5 separate regions of the Homo sapiens genome follow, and regions 1, 2, 3 and 4 are each linked to region 5. Evidence: promoter capture Hi-C in 16 types of primary human blood cells and fetal thymus (Javierre and others, 2016). All regions are on one chromosome and are shown on one strand. The core of a region is centred on a gene start or on the middle of the fragment in contact, and the rest is flanking DNA. Distances in the headings are between cores, read along the strand shown. Region 1 has its middle 33 kb from the start of MIR548A1HG. Region 2 holds the start of LOC105374953 (a long non-coding RNA gene). Region 3 overlaps KIF13A (kinesin family member 13A). Region 4 overlaps KIF13A (kinesin family member 13A). Region 5 holds the start of NHLRC1 (NHL repeat containing E3 ubiquitin protein ligase 1).

What was found. The method cuts DNA at HindIII sites, captures the fragments that hold promoters and counts their contacts. A CHiCAGO score of 5 or more calls a contact.
Region 1: a contact is called between a fragment that was not itself captured here and the fragment with the promoter of NHLRC1 in region 5, in 1 of 17 cell types (total B cells). The highest score is 5.5, in total B cells.
Region 2: a fragment that was not itself captured here is called in contact with the fragment with the promoter of NHLRC1 in region 5 in 8 of 17 cell types (M2 macrophages, M1 macrophages, megakaryocytes and 5 more); the score reaches 13.9 in M2 macrophages.
Region 3: a fragment that was not itself captured here is called in contact with the fragment with the promoter of NHLRC1 in region 5 in 4 of 17 cell types (neutrophils, monocytes, M2 macrophages and 1 more); the score reaches 14.2 in neutrophils.
Region 4: a contact is called between a fragment that was not itself captured here and the fragment with the promoter of NHLRC1 in region 5, in 7 of 17 cell types (neutrophils, M2 macrophages, monocytes and 4 more). The highest score is 13.5, in neutrophils.

Annotation. Positions count from the first base shown.
Region 1 is chr6:18,488,165-18,490,864 of GRCh38, forward strand. No RefSeq gene overlaps it. Among named protein-coding and RNA genes, the nearest start is that of MIR548A1HG, 33 kb to the right of the region's middle. The HindIII fragment of the contact is 1,213 bases long and covers 660-1,872 here.
Region 2 is chr6:17,849,076-17,851,775 of GRCh38, forward strand. KIF13A (kinesin family member 13A) reads right to left here. Exons shown (of 39, transcript NM_022113.6): 8 at 1,248-1,382; 9 at 302-414. It overlaps LOC105374953 (a long non-coding RNA gene), which reads left to right and starts at 1,359. Exons shown (of 3, transcript XR_001744007.2): 1 at 1,359-1,446; 2 at 1,900-1,989. The HindIII fragment of the contact is 3,444 bases long and covers 1-2,700 here.
Region 3 is chr6:17,771,936-17,774,642 of GRCh38, forward strand. It overlaps KIF13A (kinesin family member 13A), which reads right to left. Exons shown (of 39, transcript NM_022113.6): 36 at 1,543-1,648; 37 at 1-124. Among named protein-coding and RNA genes, the nearest start is that of NUP153-AS1, 66 kb to the left of the region's middle. The HindIII fragment of the contact is 5,011 bases long and covers 1-2,707 here.
Region 4 is chr6:17,790,458-17,793,157 of GRCh38, forward strand. The region is part of intron 25 of KIF13A (kinesin family member 13A); the gene reads right to left. Among named protein-coding and RNA genes, the nearest start is that of NUP153-AS1, 85 kb to the left of the region's middle. The HindIII fragment of the contact is 3,583 bases long and covers 1-2,700 here.
Region 5 is chr6:18,121,427-18,124,126 of GRCh38, forward strand. It overlaps NHLRC1 (NHL repeat containing E3 ubiquitin protein ligase 1), which reads right to left and starts at 1,251. Exons shown (of 1, transcript NM_198586.3): 1 at 1-1,251. The coding sequence starts at 1,180. The HindIII fragment of the contact is 6,107 bases long and covers 555-2,700 here.

The sequences.
Region 1 (2,700 bases), core at 16-2,515, 370 kb after region 5:
AGAGGGTACTAGTGGCCAAGTTTCCATTAGTGGTTACTACTGATTGATGCCTGCAGCTTTCTGTTCATGTACAAATAGAAACCTATTCTCATCTTTGATCTTGGGGTTGGGAGTTGAGGTAATGAGGAGAAAGTCCCGGAACACAATTAAATCTCTTTGTATCTCTCAACTTGTAACTTTTGTTTTCCATTTAACACAGGAAAGACTCTGAATATTAGGAAGTTGTGATTCTCTTGTTCAGACTAGGGCATGCTTTTCATTTGCTCAGATACAGAAGGATATAGGGAGAAGGAAATAAACCATGTTTATGGAAACACAGCTCTGTGCCTGTAACGGTGTTAGATGCTTTCCCACGTGACCTCATCCAATTCCCTAACAACTCTAGAAAACGAGGATTCATATTCCACATACTCTTAAGGAAACTGCGTTTCAGAGGAGAGGGAGAAAAATACATTCTTCTGTGTTGCGCACATTGTAAGTGGCAAAACAAGTTGAAACAGGCAACTGTTGGCCTCAATGGCCTGTGGTATTTCCACTCCACGGTATAACAATGTAAGTGATTATGGTGTTAATCCTCCTGGTACTGCAAAAGAGCTTTATGAAAACCTTGAATGCACAATGGGAATGGGAACTATTCTGAACAGTTTATTTAGTCTAGAAGCTTACCTGTGAGTCATCATAGACCAATACAAAAAAAATCAGAAACCTAATTTCTAGATTTTAGCCTTTGCATTAATACTTAGAAATAAGCTGGTCTGTCTATCTATCTATCTATCTATCTATCTATCTATCTTAGTCTCTGCCTATAGTTTCTGAAACCAGAATCTTGTTCTGAGAAGTAAACTGTGCAAGGGGAAAGGATGAAGGAGAAAAAAAGCCAAGCGAACCTCTTTTCTTTGTAATGAGTCATATTGCCTGCACTTGGATTTTCACTGACACCAGCTAGGACAGTTTCTGCCCCTCCTCTCTCAAGGAAGACCTTAATGATGGTTCACAGGGCCTGAATCTTATCTGTGGTACCAATTAATTCTGGAAACTAAAAGTGTACTCATTTGAATTTATGTTTAAAATTTTTTTCTTTCTCCCTCCTATACTTATTTTCTAGGGAAGTAATTTGACATTTGGGTCTGCATTACACCAAAGTGAGTGAAAGATACTTTGCTACAGTTTTTCAGGGAAGGGAGGTTTATTTAGCTGTGGTAAATAGCCTAGAACAGAGGTTGGCAAACTTTTTCTGTAAAGTGCTGTATCGTAGGTACTTAAGGCTTTGTAGGCCATACGGTCTTTGTGGTTACAACCCAACTGTGCTGTTGTAGTGTGAAAGCAGCCAGTCAACACATAAATGAGTCAGTACGGTTGTGTTTCAATAAAACTTTATTTATGCAAACAAGAGAGGGGCCACATTTGGCCCCTGAGCTGCGGTTTGCCAAACTTTGGCCTAGAACATATCTCAGGTTTTTCTCTGTGTTTGACACCTACTGCCAAGCACATAGTAAGTGCTCAATAAATAATAAATGTTTTTAAATAACTGCACATGTAAAGGAACAATAGAACTCTTTCCAGACTTTATAACTAGCAACTATGTTATACATTAAGGAATGAGTTGGTAGGAGTAGAGTCAATCTACAGATAGAAGAATAAAGCATGAGAGGTTAGGGCCTCAAGAAGCTGCAGGCAAATTTTCATGTAGAATTCAAGCTCCCTGACTCTAATCAGTGGTGCATTTACTGAGCTCCTTTGGTGCATGCAAGTTTATATTATTTTACCATTTATTTTAAGGAAATCTATGTCTTTCAAAGAGAATAATATTAATTTCTGTTGCATCAGATAAGCTCCTCTGGGTTGCAAGAGATAGAAAACCCAGTTCAAACAAGCTTAAACAATACAGGGAAGTTGTTGGCTGATGAAACAGAAAAGTCTTGATATAGAGTAGGCTCCAGGCAAGCTTGACTCAGGCACCCAAAGTCACCAAGAATCCAGTTCCTTTCTGCCTCCTTGTTCTGCCTATCACTTGGTCATCTTCATTGTCAGATTCCACCCTATGGGGTGCTCCTTAAGGTTTTCTTGCTTGGGATGGTGGAATAGGGAAAATGAACTAAATCCTCCTCAAACTTTTGCTGACCTTGGCCAATTGAAGAAACAGAGCACAGATAAAAAATGGACTAACGTGTCCTGGCTGGTGAGTGGGAAGCCGAATGAAACTGGGCAAGTCAACTGAATATTTGGCAGTCCTGAAGACTGGGAACAGACCAGGGAGTAGATGCATTCTAGGGAGAGGAACATCTTTGGAGGTATGCAAGAGTCCAGCAAGTTTGCTTAGTCCAAAGTTGTTTAGAATCACTGGAGTATAAAGAGTAGGGGGGATGTAAGGATGGATGGACAGGTAGGAGAGGACCAAATCCTGAAGTGACTTGAAGAAATCAGCTTTTATCTCCAAGATAACTAGGGCATTGCTAAAGTTTGAGCAAGGTAGTGACGAGATGAAACTTACGTGTGAGAAAAATTATGTTGATAGTTTTGTGGAAGGAGGTTGAGGGAGAAGTAGGGAGAAAAGCAATGAACCTGATATAATTAACTGGATGTAGCATATGATGGTGGGTATGAACAAGAGAAGAAGAGTAAGAGAGCCATTTAGATAGAATGAACCTGCTGGATATGGGGGAGAGTGAATCAACCAGAATGATGCTGGTCTTCTATTTC
Region 2 (2,700 bases), core at 43-2,542, 270 kb before region 5:
CCTTTTTAGTAGAGATGGGGTTTTGCCATGTTGGCCAGGCTGGTCTCAAACTCCTGACCTCAGGTGATCTGCCCGCCTTGGCTTCCCAAAGTACTGGGATTACAGGCATGAGCCACCGTGCCTGGCCAAAAACCTCATACATCTTAACAGACACAGGTTGTTGTTGTTTTTCTTCAGCCCAGTTTACTAAAGCTATACAGACTTTAAACAACCTGTACATCAGAACCATCTGACCCTCATAATGCAACAAATCCCCTCCAGAAGGAAATCACCCAGGCTGTTCTGGGACCAGCCACCTTACTTGTTAATGTTGCTGCCTTCTTTCAGTCGCTCTCCTGCAGCTCCTGTTTTAGATACTCTTTCGCTACCCGCCAGGTCTACCAAGCTGACCTTACTGACTTTCTCCCCGGAATTCTAGTTATAGGAAACGAGAGAGAGAAGAAAAACTTATCAATAAAAACCACATGGATATCTACATATATGTTAGCACTATAATTGAGCAATCCATCCCACTCTCATATGGCAAATTTCTTAAGTTTTTAAACGGTCAGAAGAGTTATTTGAACCAGCAATTAATTTCATAGTTAACATTTAAATAGGCGTAGAAATGTAGCATTTTGTTTTGCAGCTGGGTAGCAAGTACACCCAGCTTTCTGGAATACAGTCAGAAAGCTGGAGATTTAAAATGCCTATGAGGAGATATGAGGACATGAGGATTTCTGCACATTCAAGTCAAATCCTTCTTCCTTTGAAAAAAGGTTTAGGCTAAAGGTTGTGGTGTCCTCTTTAATATCCCTCAATGGCTATGAAGCTGACATGTTTCCATGGGAATTTCAGCATGAAAGGATATATATTAAAAGCTGTATGGTGATGTCATCACACTTGTTAGGGACTTTGCACAAGAAATACAATTATTTTTCTTTTTTGTTTTTGTAGAGTCTGGGTGTTGCTATATTGTACAAGATGGTCATGAACTTCTGCCCTCAAGCAATCCTCCCGCCTCAGACTCCCAAAATGCTGGAATTACAGGCAGGAGCCACTGCACCAGGCCAAAATCCAATTTTTTAAAAAGTCAAATATAAAGAAAGACCTAACAAATTAAATGATAAGCAAAGTAGCTCACCTAGTAAGCAGAAGAGCCAACATACAATTCTCAGCCACTGAACCCAACCATGAAAGACTTTACCTATATGGACACTTTCAGTTCTTCCACCCCCACTCCAAAAAGGTTCTGCCTAATCCCTTACCCCAGACTGCAGGTCATAAAGTGTCTGTGTGATTATGATGTTGAACACAGCATGGGAGCGGCTGCTTTCTTCGTTCATGTTGGTAGCAGCTACCGTTCGAGACTTATTTCCCTCAGACATCAATGACTCAATATCCTAGGGGCAAAGCATAAGGAAAAGACCATAAGCAAAAACACAAGAATGTAGTCCTGCACACCAGGTATATGTATTAATTATGATTCCTCTGATGCCTTTGTCACCACCCTTCCATAGAAACCTCCCTGCCGCTCCTCCATTGAGCATGGTTTGAGCTTCCACCTCACTCAAGACTTTGTAATGTATGAAATGTTTCCCTAATTCTTTCCATTTCCCAATTGTCTTCTTTCTCAGTTGAGTCCCTATTTTCTCCTTTTTGGGTTCCTGGGATAGCTAATATTTATTGAGCACTCCGATAATCAATAATAGCAGTGACTTGATTTAACTCTTACTCTCCTGTGCTTACCAACCCGCTGATGCCTGCCTGTCTGCCTCCCTCCTCCAATACTGTGGCTCCCTGATGGCAGGGTTTTTTCCTTATTCCACTTTGTACACTTGCTCCTAGAATGCCTAGAGCCTATGGGATCTTATGAAATATTTGCTAAATGAACTTTATTTTCTTGCTTTTACATACAAGGATGCTGAAGTTCGTGGAGGTCAAGCAACTTTCCCCAAATCCAGTAAGAGGTAGAGCTGGGATGCAAATAGAGCACCCTGGCTCCTACTAGTAAGTGACAGGATAACATCAACACTTACCTCAACCACACTGAGCTAAGAACCAGGGACCTCAGTGAAGGAGCTGAGTTAGCACCTTTAGACCAAAAAAGTATCCATTCATTTCAGAATCGAAACCTTTTTAAAATGATCACTGTGCTCTATTTCCGATTAGAGCAATTCTATATATACCTTGATTTAAATGGCTGGAGAGAATCACTGCACAGATTAGTTTTAGCCATACTAAGTCTGGGGTGATAATGGGCCAGCCACATCCCACAAACAGCACAAAGTAAGTGCAGGGATTTGCTTGTTTCTCTGTGCATTCACTCATTCATTCACATCCTTTAGCAACAGAGATAGCAGTTTGTGTTATGAGATTTCCAAAGCAATCACTATAGAAATAGAAGCAGAATCTTGAGTCAGATCTTAACAAGGCATATAAGTCAAAGAGTAAATAAAGTAAAACAGGCCGGTCAATGGCAAGAGGAGTGATTCAGAAAAACAGGAGAGCCAGAAGTGACAGAAACCAAGGCAGGAGACCCTGCCAAAAAGAAAGGGCTGTACTAACTGCCAAATACTGTTTAGAATACCACATGTCTAGAAGGATGTCACTGGCATCATTGGGAGAACAGTTTTAACAGAGTAGTATTAGTGAAAATATGCAGCAACCTGAAAACACTGGGCCTCCCGGCCATACTGTAAAACCTTCACAACAAAGCAG
Region 3 (2,707 bases), core at 16-2,515, 350 kb before region 5:
AGGGCTATCCTTTTCTTATGCTCCTCTTTTACAGGCATTAGGGGCTTGAAAAACTTTGGTGGCTGAGGAGAGAATGCTTTAAAAGGGCTGACGGTTAAGGCATGAGGAGTCTCTGATGTACAACCTAGGGAAGATGAGAAGTTATGAGGTTACAGATGCTGAACACTTTAAGCAAAACATAGGAACTGAGACAATGACCCAGCCATGGGAATATCTGGGAGAACAATGAAATTCATAGGCTAATATTTGGCTAAGCATTAAAACAGATGTATGCCCACCCTGTGCAACATAGGGACACCAGTCTGTGAAAAAAAAAATAAACAGATAGCCAGGCATGGTGGTGTCTACTTGTTGTACTTGCTACTCAGGAGGCTGAGGCGAGAAGATCGCTTGAGCCCCAGGGGTTGAGGCTGCAGTGAGTTATAATGGTGCCACTGCACTCCAGCCCGGGCAAGAGAGAGAGAGGGAGACCCTGTCTAAAAACAAAACAAAAAAACCCCACAAACAACAAACAACAAACAAAAAAACCCCCAAAAAACCATGGAACAGATGTAGGCAAGAATAGACATAAATCTGTGATGTCACAAAGAGTTACTACAGTGCTAGTCTGTGTGAACAAAGTGAGATAGCAAATTTCTACACTCTTTTCAAGATCCAGCTTAAGCACCACTAACCAGACCAATTTCAGCTCACGCTGATTTTCCATTCCTCTGAATTCTCACAGCCCTTATTATCTGCATGTTCATTTTGGCACCTTATCATTTAACATCTCATTTTCTGTGTATCTTATTTCCATAGTTATAAGACAGAAAGTAGAGGCTCAATAAATATTCAATGAATTAATACTGTGTAAATTTTCTTGCGAGCCTCTTTTTTTCCCCCTCAGGCCACCCTGCTATATATGACTAAGGGAGGACAATTCTTCTTCCTTGCTTGTATCATTTCTTACCTTTTTGGCCTCTTTCCTCCCTTTCCAATTTGTTAGTATAATGGCGAATATACCTTATATTTTACCTACTAATATAAGGTATAAGGTAACAGAACCGATATATATGGCCAAAGAATACTGTTCCCATTAAGGCACTGGTAGACTGTATAATTTAGGTAATAATGTCACCATGAATCAAACTCATTTTGGGTATCGTTTTTGAAAACTGCTTTATGAATCAAAGTCATGTTCTTTTAAAAATTCCTTTGAGTACACAAATATGACAGAGCTGGATATTCTGGTAGAAAATAATAGGATTTGTATGTGTCTCAAAACTGGACTTGAAAGTCAGGAAATGATGACAAAAAATGATTCAGAAGTTCTAAAGTAATACACAAAAAGTCTATGATTATTTGGGTGATATGTTGGATACAAAACAAAAATAAATCAAATAAGTGAATGTTATATGTTACATTCAATAACAGTTTTGTATCATCTAGTTAACTAGAATATCAGCTTCATATCTTATTATATGCCATTAATGAAAGACATTTTTTCATACTTTTTCTAAGTAATTACAAAGAAATATCACTGCAAAATAATCTCACCACTACCTTCTTTATTCCTTCGAGGAGAATCCCTGGGTAAAGTTCCATAACATGCTACATCTTGGTAACTGGAGCTATAGTCAGACATGTCCAACTGGTTCTCTGGCCAACCCTACAAGGTAAAAATATGGGTTAACTGTAATTGAATCACTCCAAAATAAGAAATAAAGCCCAGGTTGGAGTTTCTTCTGTTTTTTTTTAATGGCAGCATATGCTCTTCTTTATTTTTATTATGATTTATTTCAAATATACAGAAAGGGCTGAATATCGTAAAAAATACTGTCATATCCAAGGTATACCCGGAGTGAATACATGTTAATATTTTATTATATTTGCTCAAGTTTAATAAAATTATTACAAATGTAGTGTGATCTTTTGGTCCCATTCATCTTCCTTCCTCCCCAGAGGTAGCTACTTTGAGCAATGTGGCATATACCCAGAGTGACTTGATAATTTAATGACCAAACTGAAACACTCTCAAAGGACAACTGTTCCATTAGTAATTCTGCCTGGGTAGAAGGCACAGCTGAGACTGTCCAAGGCAAATTTGGCAGTGTGGTTACTCTACCTATATTTGAGATTTAAAAGTTTCAAAGAGGCATAAAGTATTGGTATACAAAACAGAGAAAACGCTGGCATATCATACGAGCTTACTTAATCTTATGTCAACTTATCAGGAGTTGATTGCCTCTGAAGACTAAATTTTAAACTTCTTAAGGACATAAATCTGTGCTTATACCTTTTGGATCATCTAGTCTCTAGCATAGTAACTCATATATAATATGTATTCAAGAAATATTTGTTGAATAAGATCATGTTGCAATCTGTCCTTAATTTTAAATCCCCTCTTTTACCCATTGAAATAATTTTGATTATGCTATGGTGGATGTAACACCTTCTCCAATCATTTAGAGTTAAACCCATAAACACACAGATATCTATTCAATTATGTGTGGTACTGTCCTGGTATGGAACCTATCATGGTAAGTAACAATGTAATACTGAAAGTGCATAGCAATTGTCTGGGCATGGTGGCTCATGCCTGTAATCCAAACACTTTGGGAGGCCGAGGCGGATCGATCACCTGAGGTCAGAAGTTCGAGACCATCCTGGCCAACATGGCGAAACTCCATCTCTACTAAAAATACAAAATTAGCCAGGTGTGGTGGCA
Region 4 (2,700 bases), core at 68-2,567, 330 kb before region 5:
TAATTGGGCCAGGCCTTATACCACTGTCATACAGACAGCTGATATGTATTTTGGGGTAGACTATTTGACTGAGATTTGAGATAGGCTTAGGAAGACAGAGTGGCAAAACTACAGGGAACATTCTCTTGCCCAATCTCAGTTTGAGCAATGAGGCAAACATCCTTTAAGCCTTAAAGGATGAAATGATTTAACCTTAGGACCACACAGATAATGGCAGGTCAGAACTGTAAGCCATGTCTGAGGTCTCCAACCTCAGCTGTCTTCCCTGATGCAATCATCCCAGGGGAAAGCTGGGGCAACCTCAGGCTATATACATACAAGGGTCTGTACTACACTGTTGAAATAAAAGCAATAGCATACTATTTGGAATATAAGGATTGGTCAGTACTCTCTATTGACCATAACAATCACTTGAAAGAATCATAACTGTCCCAAACACAGGGCAACATTGTAAAATAAATAAACAAAGTAACAATTTTTGCAAAAACATTTGGCAAAACAAAGTAATCACGTTGAAAACAAAAGGGTCTTGGTAGAAAAAAATTTTCCTTATAAACGAGAACCTAGAATCCCTTAATTTAGATTTATGACTAAAAAGTGCTTTAAGAATATAGTCAAAATTATTTTCATATATACTTCAAAATGAACTGCTTTTTTTTTTTTTTTAGTTTGGTAACCACCATTATCAGTTATATGACTAACTTATTAAATGTAATCCTAATCCTGAAGTAATTTATCTTGAACTAATGCTTCCTATTAATGTAAAAGAACAAATGGCTCTAATTTATCATAACTTTTTAAACTATGGAGGTAGTTCTATTAACTGAAAATTGGCCTAAGCATTCATGACATGAAATTGTTGCAAAACCAGCATATTCTGCATTGGTTTCAGCTACTGCATGAGAATAATTCTTTTTTTTTTTTTTGCATCAGAATAATTCTAAAACACTGTGACAACAACAAAAACACTTAACAGACGTGACCTGGAACATGGCAGCAAAGAAAAAAAAAGCCTTTAAAATAGTTACAGTCCAAATTTTAAGCACTATGCTCTTAAAGAGCACATAGCACTGGGGAAAGGCTAATATTTTAAAGTTTACAATTTGACAAAAATCAGTTTTAACTCAGAGGTAGAGCTGTTTTTTAAAAAATGTGAACAGTTGCTGGGTGTGGTGGCTCACACGTGTAATCCCAGTACTTTGGGAGGACCAGGCAGGCGGATCATTTGAGGTGAGGAATGCAAGACCAGCCTGGCCAACATGGTGAAACCCGTCTCTACTAAAAATACAAAAATTAGCTGGGTGTGGTGGTGCGGGCCTGTAATCCCAGCTACTCGGGAGGCTGAGGCAAGAGAATCACTTGAACCAGGGAGATGGAAGATGCAGTGAGCCGAGATTGTGCCACCACACTCCAGCCTGGGTGACAGAGAGAGAGACTCTGTCTCAAAAAAAAAAAAAAAAAAAGTACTGAGCGCAGTGGCTCACGCCTGTAATCCCAGCACTTTGGGAGGTCGAGGTGGGTGGATCATGAGGTCAGGAGTTCAAGGCCAGCCTGGCCAACATGATGAAACCCCTATCTCTACTAAAAATACAAAAATTAGACAGGTGCGTTGGCAGGTGCCCGTAATCCCAGCTACTCTGGAGACTGAGGCAGGAGAATCGCTCGAACCCAGGAGGCAGAGGTTACAGTGAGCCAAGATTGCACCATTGCACTCCAGCCTAGGGGACAGAGTGAGACTCAAAAAAAAAAAAAAAAAAAAAGCAGCAAATAGTTGATCCTTGGAATGTTCCTCAAATGAGAACATTTAGTTAGTTGATGACCCATATACTTATACTGCAGGTCACAGTTTGGAGCACACAGCCGATGTTTTTATTGAACACCAGAGATTTATTAAGCCACAAAATTTTATTGTGGACAGGGACCTCAGAGGATTATTAAGTCTACTTCATCAGTTTGGAGAAAAGGGGAACTCAAAGTTTAAATTTTCCAGCCAAGATAACCATTTAGTAAAGCTCAACTAGACTTAAGAACCCAGGTTTCCTGACTCCCAGTCTAGTGTTCTCTTTCGACCGTGCAGCCACGTAGAAGTTGATGGCTAAGTGAAGGACTGAACTGCTATGAGAATACCTACAATCCCATTTCCTGCTCCACGGGCTGCACACACACAAGGAAAAGTCTGGTGGAGAAGCCTACCAAACCACAGCAGCCCTGTCCTTGCACCTACACTCATACTCTGAATGAAGTGTGGACAGATGTTCCGAGCTAGAGGGAATTTTGGGCTTGAAGAAGGCAGGCAGCATCTGACAAAGCTATTACTGCCTTGAAGTTCAATAGTCTGTGCACTGACTTTCAGCTTTCAGAAGAGACTTTGCCTGAAAGCCAGGAAGCCAAAAGGAAACTAAGATAGAAGAGAAAACATCCTCAAGATTGGCTGGGCTTACACTCAGACTCCATAGAGAAATGTTTTCTCCTCGGCACGATAGGGAGAGTGCTCCCGATCACATATGACGGTGAGGGAGGCAGATTTAACAGTGATTCTTCCCAGTTCCTAATTCATATCTGGTAGTAAACTGGGGACTCAATGAAGCACACACATTTTTTTTTAGGCTACTGGGGGACAAGATCCTAATTTTATTTTTTTTGAGACAGCCTTCCTCTGTCACCCAGGCTGGAGTGCAGTGGTATGATCTTGGCTCACTT
Region 5 (2,700 bases), core at 1-2,500:
AGTCAACTTTATAGACTTTTATAGAATGAGATGCTGTGTCCAGCACAAGAAGAGAATTCTCCTTGGTGAAGGTAAGAGCCACAGGATGCGAAAGACCATGAGTGACCATGGGCTTCGGTACTGGAAACTCCTCAGGTTTTCCTAAGCAAAGGATAGCTGGACCAGATGTATCTGCAACAATCACATTTCCCTGGTGATCAAAGGTCACAGCGGAGGCAGTTATTTTGGAGGGAAAGTAGAGGCTCAGCCCAAAGGTATCCACTTGGCCGACAAGCTGCATACTTGAGCTAAACACTTTCACCCTGGTGCTGCAAACCCCAGTCCCCAGGGCCAGGGGGTGCTCCAGGACCGCAATGGCCCCGGTGAGCCAAGACACTGCCACCCCTCGGGGATTGCACAGATGAGCTTGCAACCTTTCAGTTCTCCGAAGGACCCCTTCCGCGAAGTCGACGTCCAGGAGGTGCAGGGACCCTGCCTCCGCATCAGTTACCACAATCCCATTCTGAGGGGTGGTCTCCACACCCCAAGGTAAGGAGAATTGGCCTCCAATGACAAGCTTGATCTGGCCAAAAAAATCAAACACTTTGATGGAGCGATCGCCGGCGTCAGTGACAACCACATGGCAGTCGTTGGTGATGGTGACATCCACAGGGTACCTAATGTCTTGGGCAGCGTCCCCCTTCTCTCCAAACTGATGCGCGCATCCTCCCCCTGAGTCAAAAATCTTGACACGCCTCCTGCCGTCGTGCACCACCACGACACGCCCCGTCTTGGGACAAAGCGCCAGTCCGGTGGGGTTGACCAGGGTCCCCCAGCCGCCGAAGGTGTGGTGGCAGGTGAGGGCTCCGGGGGCGCTGGGGGCGGCGCGATGGGCGGCCGGGGACTGGCGAAGCGCTGAGCCCAGGAGCTCTATGAGGTGCAGCACCGGCAGGCAGTCGCTGGTGTCGCAGCCCCGGCAAGCTCGCCTGCAGAATGGGCACTCGAGGGCCAGAGTGCGCGGGTGCGCCAGGGCGGCCACGCAGGCCAGGCAGACCACGTGGCCGCAGGACAGGTTGCGCGGGCGCCGCTGCTGCCGGTGGCCAAACTTCTCAAAGCACACCTTGCACTCGAGCAGGCTGATCTCCGCCTCGCGCATGAGCTCATGCAGCGCTGGCCCGCTCTCCGAGGCTTCGGCCGCCATGGCGCGTCCTGTGCACTCCCGCCGCGCCGCCTGGCCGTGCCCCAGCGACGCTCTCGGTCACGGTCACAGTCATGGTCACGGGGTGGGACGTGCGCCCTGACGTCGAGCGCCGCGGGCCTCTGCACTGCGATCTGCTGCCCCTTGGTGGGCACGCGCGGCACTGTTTCCTGAGGGCCTGATGGTGGACGTTTGCAAGACAAATCCACATGCGCGTTGTGTAGACCTGTAATCGTCACAGCAGTCATGGATGGATTGTGTACACTTTCAGATGAGGAAACACACCTATTGAGGACAACAGGATTGCTCCCTGTCACCCAGCCTGTAAGCGGCAAAACAAGAACTAGAACCCAATCTTCCAGCCCGGGTGCCTAGCAGTGTCTCCAATCCGCAGCGCCGGGTGCTACGGCTGTCCGGGCATAAAACATGGTCCCTTAGCTCATGATGCTTATGATCTGAACCGGAAAACACGAACACACTAGAGAAGATAAACTCCAAGGGAGGTGAGGCAGATGTGTACATTTCTTTTGTGTCTTCTGTCATACTCATAGTTAAGTCAATGTTAGATGAATACATACTTGTAAAATGAATTTGTGCATGAATGAATGTTATAGAACAACAACAACAACAAAAAAAAATCAACGAGGTGAATGAGTGTCAGATGGGGCAACCATGCTGGAAGTGTCTTGCAGAGTAATTAATATGAAATAAGAAAGCTGTTAGTTAATAATAATTACCATAGAACTTCATTTTTTTGTTTTTTAAGACAAAGTCTCACTCTGTCACCCAGGCTGGAGTGCAGGGGCACGATCACAGCTCACTGCAGCCTCCATCTCCCAGGCTCAAGCAATCCTCCCACTTCAGTAGCTGGGACTACAGGCATGCACCATCACACTAGGCTAATTTTTTAATTTTTTTGTAGAGAGGAGGTCTCACTATGTTGCCTAGGCTGGTCTTGAACTTGTGAAAATTGTTCACATTCCTCCCCACCCCTTGGCCTCCCAAAGTGCTGGTGTGAGCCACTGTGCCCAGCCTATGGAATTCACATATGCCTGCCCCATTGTGTTAGGTTGGTGAAAAGGATTCGCAGTGTTTGCCATCACTTTTAATGGCAAAACCGTGATTACTTTTGCAGCAAATTAATAAATAATTTACATAGATTATCTTGTTTAAACCTCATAGCAATCCTACAAAAATATGTTATTTTTATTGTCTTTTTTTCTGATAGAATTCATAGAAATCAAATATCTTGCCCAGGGTCACATGGCTAGGAAGTGGCTGGCCTGGAATTTGAAGCCAGGCAGTTTGACTTCAGAGTTACCTATTTTAGTCATTTTCAAACTTCTTTGCACATGGTAAACACCTGGGTCGCACCCGAAAAGTTTAATTGGCCCATGGTGTGGTCTGGACAGCTGGGATTTATAAAAGCTCCCCAGGTGATTATAATGTACAGCCAAGTTTGAGAAACACTGCATTATAATAATTCCCTCAAATGACACTAAGTTCAGTTTTTCCAATCTCAG